2 separate regions of the Homo sapiens genome follow, and region 1 is linked to region 2. Evidence: promoter capture Hi-C in human tissues and cell types (Jung and others, 2019). All regions are on one chromosome and are shown on one strand. The core of a region is centred on a gene start or on the middle of the fragment in contact, and the rest is flanking DNA. Distances in the headings are between cores, read along the strand shown. Region 1 overlaps SH3D19 (SH3 domain containing 19). Region 2 holds the start of PRSS48 (serine protease 48).

The links. The method cuts DNA at HindIII sites, captures the fragments that hold promoters and counts their contacts. A contact is called where the count stands out against the background at its distance.
Region 1: a fragment that was not itself captured here is called in contact with the fragment with the promoter of PRSS48 in region 2 in 1 of the 25 tissues and cell types used here (adrenal gland).

What each region holds. Positions count from the first base shown.
Region 1 is chr4:151,135,279-151,139,727 of GRCh38, reverse strand. SH3D19 (SH3 domain containing 19) reads left to right here. Exons shown (of 20, transcript NM_001378122.1): 14 at 1,866-1,996. It overlaps SH3D19-AS1 (SH3D19 antisense RNA 1), which reads right to left. Exons shown (of 2, transcript XR_001741442.2): 2 at 1-172. Among named protein-coding and RNA genes, the nearest start is that of SH3D19-AS1, 13 kb to the right of the region's middle. The HindIII fragment of the contact is 6,577 bases long and covers 1-4,449 here.
Region 2 is chr4:151,275,362-151,279,706 of GRCh38, reverse strand. PRSS48 (serine protease 48) reads right to left here and starts at 2,546. Exons shown (of 5, transcript NM_183375.5): 1 at 2,483-2,546. The coding sequence starts at 2,534. The region is part of intron 1 of SH3D19 (SH3 domain containing 19); the gene reads left to right. The HindIII fragment of the contact is 14,422 bases long and covers 1-4,345 here.

The sequences.
Region 1 (4,449 bases), core at 332-2,831, 140 kb after region 2:
AGTCTTTTTCCCTGCCGGGGGTTAGCCTCTCAAGGACATCCTTCTTCATTTTTCTGTGCCTATAGAGTCCGAGACTGGAGAGGTCATCTTATCCAGGACTCCACTTCAAGAAGGGTTGATTGTACCAGCCATTCCAGAAAGCTTAGTTGTATACCCTTGCCTTTGAAGCTCCCTGAGAAAGAGAAAGAGAGAGAGAGAGACTTTCCCTTACAAATGAACATTGCAAATTGCCTACCAGTCACAAACTTTTTAACTCTTTCAAAATAGTGGGTACTAGGCCGGGCGCAGTGGCTCACGCCTGTAATCCCAGCACTTTGGGAGGCCGAGGCAGGCGGATCACGAGGTCAGGAGATTGAGACCATCCTGGCTAACATGGTGAAACCCCGTCTCTACTAAAAATACAAAAAATTAGCCGGGCGTAGTGGCGGGCGCCTGTAGTCCAGCTATTCGGGAGGCTGAGGCAGGAGAATGGCGTGAACCCGCGAGGCTGAGGTTGCAGTGAGCTGAGATCGCGCCACTGCACTCCGGCCCGAGGGACAGAGCGAGACTCCGTCTCAAAAAAGAAAAAAAAAAATAGTGGGTACTAATTAACAATTGTAATATGGCTGGGCACAGTGGCTTACACCTGTAATCCCAGCACTTTGTGAGGCCGAGGCGGATGGATCACCTGAGGTCAGGAGTCCAGACCAGTCTGACCAACATGTTGAAACCCCGTCTCTATAAATACAAAAAAGTAGCCGGGCATGGTGACGCATGCCTGTAATCCCAGCTACTTGGGAGGCTGAGTCAGGAGAATCACTTGAACCTGGGAGGCAGAGGTTGCAATGAGCTAAGATTGTGCCGTTGCACCCTGGGCAACAAGAGCAAAACCCCGTCTCAAAAAACAACAACAACAAAAAAATTGTAATAAAGTTAATCCTAACTTAATAACTGAAGTTCTTTTGTCTTCAAAGTTGTCTCAGCTGCTTACTTACCTATGAGATCAAAGTAATTTGTGTGTGTGTGTGTGTGTGTGTGTGTGTGTGTGTGTGTGTGTGTGTGAGACAAGATCTTGCTCTGTCGCCTAGGCTTGAGTGCAGTGGTGCAATCACTATAACCTTGAACTCCTGGACTCAAGTGATCCTCCTCCCTCAGCTTCCCCAGTAGCTAGGACTACAGGGGTGCCACTACACCTGGCTAATTTTTTTTTTTCCTAGGGACATGGTCTCGCTATGTTGCCCAGGCTGGTCTTGAACTCCTGGCCTCAAGTGATCCTCCCACCTTAGCTTCTTAAAGTGCTGAGATAACAGGCATGAGCCACCCATGCCCACGCACAATATAAGTACTTTTGTAATAATTTTTAAAATGCCCTTCATATCCAAGGCTACAAATAAACTCCTGATTTACTTACAATCTCTTTTTATCCACTTGATAGGCTGATTTTTGTTTTGGTATGGGTAAACTTATTTGCTAAAGAGTTGTAGTACTCCCTTAGTTAATATTTGAAATTAAAATGATTTTTAAGCATAATTGAGAATAATAATATTATACCATGTCTATAAACTTTTTTCATTGTTCAGTGTGTATTCAGCACGGCTTTATATTGGCACAGTAGGAAACATTTGCTAACACAATAGTGTTTTTTTCAACCATTTCCCATCAATCAAAGCATGGTAAATGTGTCTAATTTGGTCTTTAAAAAGGGAGCTCATAACAATGTCCAAAAAAAGAATAGCATTTTTTAAGTCAATTTGATTAGTATAATCTGTTCTCAGAATCAGTGGAACATAACTGCCTCAGTGGACACAACTAAATGCTACTTTGTGCTTTTATCAAATCTGCAACCAGGATGATTCATCATACATAACTATAATTTTATATTACAGAGCAAGTTGATGATTTGAACCTCACTTCTGGAGAAATTGTTTATCTTCTGGAGAAGATAGATACAGATTGGTACAGAGGGAACTGTAGAAACCAGATTGGCATATTTCCTGCCAACTATGTCAAAGTGATTGTAAGTGGGTTGTGTTTGTTTTAATTTGGTCATATACTCAGTGGGTTCTATGTGACTTGTAGGTTGGAAAAAATAACTAGAAACCCAGATTCTAGTTCTCTTTCATTGATTCATTTGGCATTTGGAAAATTCAAAAATAAAGATTTGGTCAACTAGGTGATGGTTAATTATTATATTATGGAGTGTTAGAACTTAATGCCTAAATGCTGTCTGAAATCCTAAAGTGAAAGACCACCACAGGTCAACTGGTGAATCAGCTGTTCTTGGAGAGTTGTTAAGCACTTAAGGATATATGGTAATTCTTTGAGACATTTAGTGAACATGAATTCAGTGATACTAGCTTATCCTGTAGAGATGTTCTCTGAGGTTATGGTACCACTTCTTTTCTTTGGAGTACATTTTGGTTTGAGTTTCTTTCATCTTTTCCATTCTTATTTATCTCCATCTTTAAAAAAAAATTTATTTGGGAATACAGAAGTATTTATATTGGAGATAGTGGTTCATTAATGGTTGTACCCACAAAATAATTTCTAATCTGATTAGGAAAATTATATTAAAGCACCAGAATTTTTATACCCTCACGGCCTAACTTGTGAAAGCATTCCTATGTGTGAGAGCTGTGTGTAAGCCCAGATGGCTGTGTGAAACATGGGGATAAAATCAGACTGCCCTCACACATTTGTATCAATTGGAATAGGATGACTCGGTCCCTGATATAACTTACTGATACTGTGAAATATCAATAAATTTAGCTTAACAGCATTAACAGCTTATTTGGAAGGAAAAAGTAAATAAATTCCATTACATCAGAATATTAGAAAACAAGACTAACAGAAAATCTGAATTCTTCAAATAGAAATGAATTTGAGTCTCTTGGATTATGAAGGGTAGGCATTAAACATTGTCCAGTGTATCTATGCCTTGATTCTTTGGAGAAATTCAACCACATTCTGTAAATTAATATTAAGAATAATGTTTGTTTTAGCACTCTTCCTCATTTTTCTTCTGCCCAATGTAGCAGTACTTTAAAAAGCACAATTACCACACTGAAATCAATCACACAGAATCTGCCACATTATTGGTATAAGTGTTATTTCTAAGCCCACAAGTTTAAAAAATTGTTTTAAAACTTCAAAACTTTAAAATTCAAGAAGGCACTGATTTAATATAAACCTCGAGCTTTAAGTAGTTTTAAATTGCATGCATTATAGCCAAATATTTTATTGCAACCCAGCCCTCCTCTACTGAGCCTTGTAAATGAGATATTATATTAAGTGCTTGGCTGGGCACAGTGGCTCATGCCTGTAATCCCAACACTTTGGGAGGCTGAGGCAGTAGGTAGGATCACTTGAGCTCAGGAGTTCAAGACCAGCCTGGGCAACATAGTGAGACCCTGTCCCCACAAAAAATTGAAAAATTAACTTGGCATGGTGTTACGCGTGTGTAGTCCCAGCTACTTGGGAGGCTGAAGTGGGAGGATGGTGTGAGCATGGGAGGGCAAGGCTGCAGTGAGCCATGATCACGCCACTGCACTCCAGCCTGGGCAACAGAGTGAGACCCTGTCTCAAAAAATAAATAAATAAAATAAAACAAAGTGTTGCCACTTAGTTTGCTAAATACAGATTCCTTTCTTCCCTATTCATGTTGAAGGGGGAAAATATTTCAGTTATAAATGTGAAGAGAATCCACAAGTTGTTTTTGTTTTGTTTTGTTTTGTTTTGTTTTGTTTTGTTTTGTTTTGTTTTTGAGACAGTCTCGCTGTTGTCACCCGGGCCGGACTAGTCTCGAACTCCTGATCCTCCCAGAGTGCTGGAATTACAGGCGTGAGCCACTGTGCTCAGCCCGAGAATCCAAAGTTTTATTGAAATGTTTTATCTTGGGGTCAGAGAAGCATTGCAGGATTCTACCAACACTTGGAGTAGGTGTGGCAGGGCTAATGCCTGATTTCTATGTTAAGTCCTTCTCAGCTGCAGTTTTCAACCTGGAAAATATGGTATAGAGCTGGCAGGGTGCGGCAGCTCACACCTATAATACCAGCACTTTGGGAGGCTAAGGCAGGCAGATTGCTTGAGTCCAAGAGTTCAAGACCAGCCCAGGCAACAATGGTGAAACCCTGTCTCTACTAAAAATACAAAAATTTGCCGGGTGTGGTGGTGCACACCGGTAGTCCCAGCTACTTGTGGGGCTAAAGCAAGAGGATCACTTGAGGCTGGGAGGTCAAGGCTGCAGTGAGTTCTGATTGTGCCGCTGCACTCCAGCCTGGGTGACAGAGTAAGATCCTGTCTCAAAAAAAAAAAAAAAAAAAAAAAATGAGATAGAGAAAATTCAGTCAGAATTAGAGTGATATTAATGTGGTTATTCCAGTAAATAAGAGAATTGATTGGCTACTCAAGGAAGGCTACTTCACAAGTTACACTTTTTTTTTAATCCAAATTCAGGATTTGTTTTACCAT
Region 2 (4,345 bases), core at 1,297-3,796:
TTCCTAGGACCTGAACCCTCCCTAGACACCATACTCCATCCTATTCTGGTTCCACACCCAGCAGTCTTGGGCTCAAAATGGAGACCACTCCCCTGATTGTAGCTCTTTCTTTTTGGGAAAAGAGTGTAAGCAAGAACCTAAGGAAGAAATAGGGTATCATTAACACATAGTAACACATCTAATATCTAGATTCACTGAACAGAGAACCTTCCTTTATATTTAAATTTTCCAGATTGGTGTTAAAGGCCAAAATTTTCAAATGCCTTCTACCTATTAGTGGGAATCTTCACAAACATACTTACCTGCCTTCTTTAGCAGCACACATGGAATATCATTTAACTTAAAATTTTTTTTTTAAACCAGGGATAGTGGCTCATGCCTGTAATCCTGGTGCTTTGGGAGGATGAGGTGGGAGAACTGCTTGAGGCCTGGGCAATATAGTGAAACCAGGTCTCTAAAAAAAAAATTGAAAAAGAAAAAGATTTCCACATTTCTCTTTCTCTTCTTTCTCTAGTGTGCTGGTGACCTGTATACTCAAGACGTGTTGTAGATGGCCAAGATGCTGCTGCAGGGTGCTGGCCTTGGCAGGTCAGCCTATACTTGGGCCACAGCTTTATCTGTGGATGTTCCCTGGTCAGTGAGAGGTGGATACTGACAACAGCACACTACATACAAGTGTGAGCTCTAGCTGGTAGCTAGCACACAGACAGGTTCTCAGTGAATATTTGCATGACTACATAAATGAACCAATAGACAAATGAAAGTGGTAAGATTGACTGGGCACAGTGACTCACGCCTATAACCCCAGCACTTTGGGAGGCTGAGGTGGGTGGATTGCTCAAGTCCAGGAGTTCAAAACCAGCCTGGGCAACATGGCCAAACACCGTCTCTACAAAAAATATAAAGAAATTAGCCTGACATGATGGTGCATGCCTGTAGTCCCAGCTACTTGGGAGGCTGAAGCAGGAGGATTGCTTGAGCCCGGGAGGTGGAGGATGCGGTGAGTTTAGATCATGCCACTGCACTCCAGCCTGGGCGAGAGAGTGAGACCCTGTCTGAAAAGAAAAGGAAAAAAATGTGGTGAGATAGGCAGGGCAGAAGGAAACCCTAGGTCACATGGGACTCTCAAACTAGGGATGACCAGAGATAAGGCACAGAAGTAGAAAAAGGAATGTTGGAGACAGGTGCTATATTAGAGACTTTTCTTACTTTTCACAAATCACTTCCTAAATACTAGTCAGGGTTTTTTTTTTCTTCTTTTGGGCCACAAACACAACAGGTGTGGTTCAACCACACCTGTAGTCCCAGCTACTAGGGAGGCTGAGTGGGAGGATTGCTTGAACCCAGGAGTCTGAGGTTGCAGTGGGCTATGATTGCACCACTGCACTCTAACCTGGGTGACAGAGTGAGACTCTGTCTCTTAAAAAAAAAATGCTCTATGAAGATTCAAATTTAGCTTTTACTTGATTCAAGGTCACCATCAGGAATATGAAGTATGTTAGTTTATAAATACAATGATGCCCTCAGATGCGGTTGAGGTTGCAAGCTGTTTACTTTTGTGCTATTTGGTTTAACTGAATTGGCATTTTGCAGTATTTGTGTATCTTTCTTCTTTGCTACCTGTTAAGTTTTTTGCTCTCTCAGCATACCCTTTCTGTTTTTTGGGGGGACGGGGTCTTACTCTGTCGCTAAGGCTGGAGTGCAGTGGCGCTATCTCGGCTTACTGCAACCTCCACTTTCCAGGCTCAAGCACTTCTCCTGCCTCAGTCTATTGAGTAGCTGGGACTACAGGTGCCCGCCACCACGCCCGGCTAATTTTTGTATTTTTTGTAGAGATGGGGTTTCACCATGTTGCCCAGGCTGGTCTTGAACTCCTGATCTCAGGTGATCTGCCCGCCTTGGCATCCCAAAGTGCTGGGATTACAGGCGTGAGCTGCTGTGCCTGGCCAGTATACCCTTCCTTTAAATCCCTGTGGACCAGAAAAATAAATGAACAAGCATATACCTGAAATCATAGAATAGTGTTTGCTCTTCCAGTTCCCTCTGCTTGAGATGCTCTTTTCCTGGATCCTCTTACTTAATTTAGTTATCCCCTTCAGTTCTGCTCAAATGACTCCTTCTTAGTGAGGCCTTCTTTAACTACCCTTCTAAAGATTGCAACACTCCTGCCCCTGTACTTCAGATGCCCCTTTCCTTTCATAGTACTTATTACCTTCTAACAAGCCTTATAATTTACACATTTAATATGTGCATTGATTATAAGTCCCACGAAGATAGGGATCTTGTGGGTGTGTGTGTGTACTGCTATTTCCAATCGGGAGCATTGGAATGGTGCTGGGTATATAGTAGCCTCTCAGGACCTTCTCAGGCTGTGCTACTCATAACTAACATCCCATGGGTGAAGTGTCACATTGTTCTATGTGATGCCCTCTTTAGTAAAAATCCTCTGCCTCTGCCTTCTCAACCCCACCCTGGCGCTCACCTGAGATCCCCAGCAGAAGGAGCAGCGTGAAGGCACAGCCAGCAGGGCCCATGTCTCTGTCCTCAGAGCCAGTGAGCGCTTCCTGCTTCCTGGACTCAGGCTCCCAGGAAGAGGCCAATGGGGAGCTGCCAGAACTAGCTTCTCCTAGATGGATTCCTCTGCTTCACCCCCTCCTCTCCTTTGGTCTTCACCCGCTGCCAGATCCTGAAGGGACCAGACTTCAGAAGTGCAGCTGCAGGACCCAGGGGAGGAACTGGGGTCTGTGGCGCCCCCTGCTGTCCTGGGAGAGCAGGGTTTCTGGGGTTTCTGCCTGTGGTGTTGAGGAGTGGCTGGTTGAGGGCACTGGAAGAAACAGGACCCTGTCTCTAGCAAGGAGATAGAAGGTGGACAGGATTCTCCAAAAGCAAGAAATGGAAAAGAGGAAATGAACCCAGTATCTGGTTAATTTTTCTGAGTTTTTTTGTTTGTTTGTTTTCATTTCTGTTACAGTGTTAGCTGCACTGCAAGTCAAGTTTCCTGGGAAACAGACTCTAAGACAGAGATTTGTGTGCAGGAAATTTATTTTAGAGTGGTCTCAGGATCAGCAGCTCTTGGGTGGGTAGTAGGATTGGTTAGAGGGAGAGTTGAACTGTGATGCGTTTGCAACAGAGGCCACAGCCTATCTCACAAGTTTCTCTGGAGCTGAGGTGGCCCTCAGAGACTTTCTGTACTGAGCTAAGAAGGATGCGTTCTTAGGGGTCTGCATCATTGGATGCAGGCCACCTCCTAGGAGGGGGCATTACCTTGGGTGAGGTGGCTCTGTTGGCAGTTCTTGGAATAAGACTTAGCTGTGAACTGTCAGCAGCCAACACTCCTAGCTGCTAAGGGAATGAATGCTTCAGTTCTAAAGGGGGGTCTGGATGGTACACCACAACATCTACCTCAGAAATCTTCACTCTGCCTTTTGTTTTCTGTGCCAATTGTTTGTAGGGTGCTAGGTCTGTGGAGGCAGAATTCAATGAACTATTAAAATGTTACTGCTCTCTTGCAACTTAAAATATTGGGATGCTTGAAAGAAACATATAAGCAGTTTAAAACTAATAGGCCAGGCACGGTGGCTCATGCCTGTAATCCCAGCACTTTGGGAGGCCGAGGCGGGTGGATCACCTGAGGTCAGGAGTTTGAGACCATCCTGGCCAACATGGTGAAATCCCGTCTCTACTAAAAATACAAAAATTAGCTGGGTGTAGTGGCGTGCACCTGTAGTCACAGCTACTCGGGAGGCTGAGGCAGGAGAATCGCTTGAACCCGGGAGGCGGAGGTTGCAGTGAGCCAAGATGGCGCCACTGCACTCCAGCCTGGGCGACAGAGCGAGACTCCGTCTAAAAAAAAAAAAATAATAATAATAATAATAATAATAGAAGTGGCTGGGCGTGGTAGCTTACGCCTATTATCCCAGCACTTTGAAAGGCTGAACGGGGAGGATCCCTTGAGACCAGGAGTTTGAGATCAGCCTGGGCAATACAGTGAGACCCTATATCTACAAAAATTTAAAAATTAGCCTGGTGTAGTGATGTGCACCTGAAGTCCCCAGCTACTCGGGAGGCTGAGGCAGGAGGATCACTTGAAGTCAGTAGTTCAAGGCTACATGAGCTATGACTGTACCACTGTGCTCCAGCTTGGGCGACGGAAAGAACCTGTCTCAAATAATAATGGAAGACCAGAAAATGTAGATATTTTGGTAAGAACTATTCAGTTACAGGCAACTGAGGCTCACTTAAGCTAGCTTAAATCAAGAGGAGATTATTTTAAAGCTATTGTTTTGAGCTGAATTATGTCTCCTCAAAAATGTATCTTGAGGCTGGGCATGGTGGCTCACGCCTG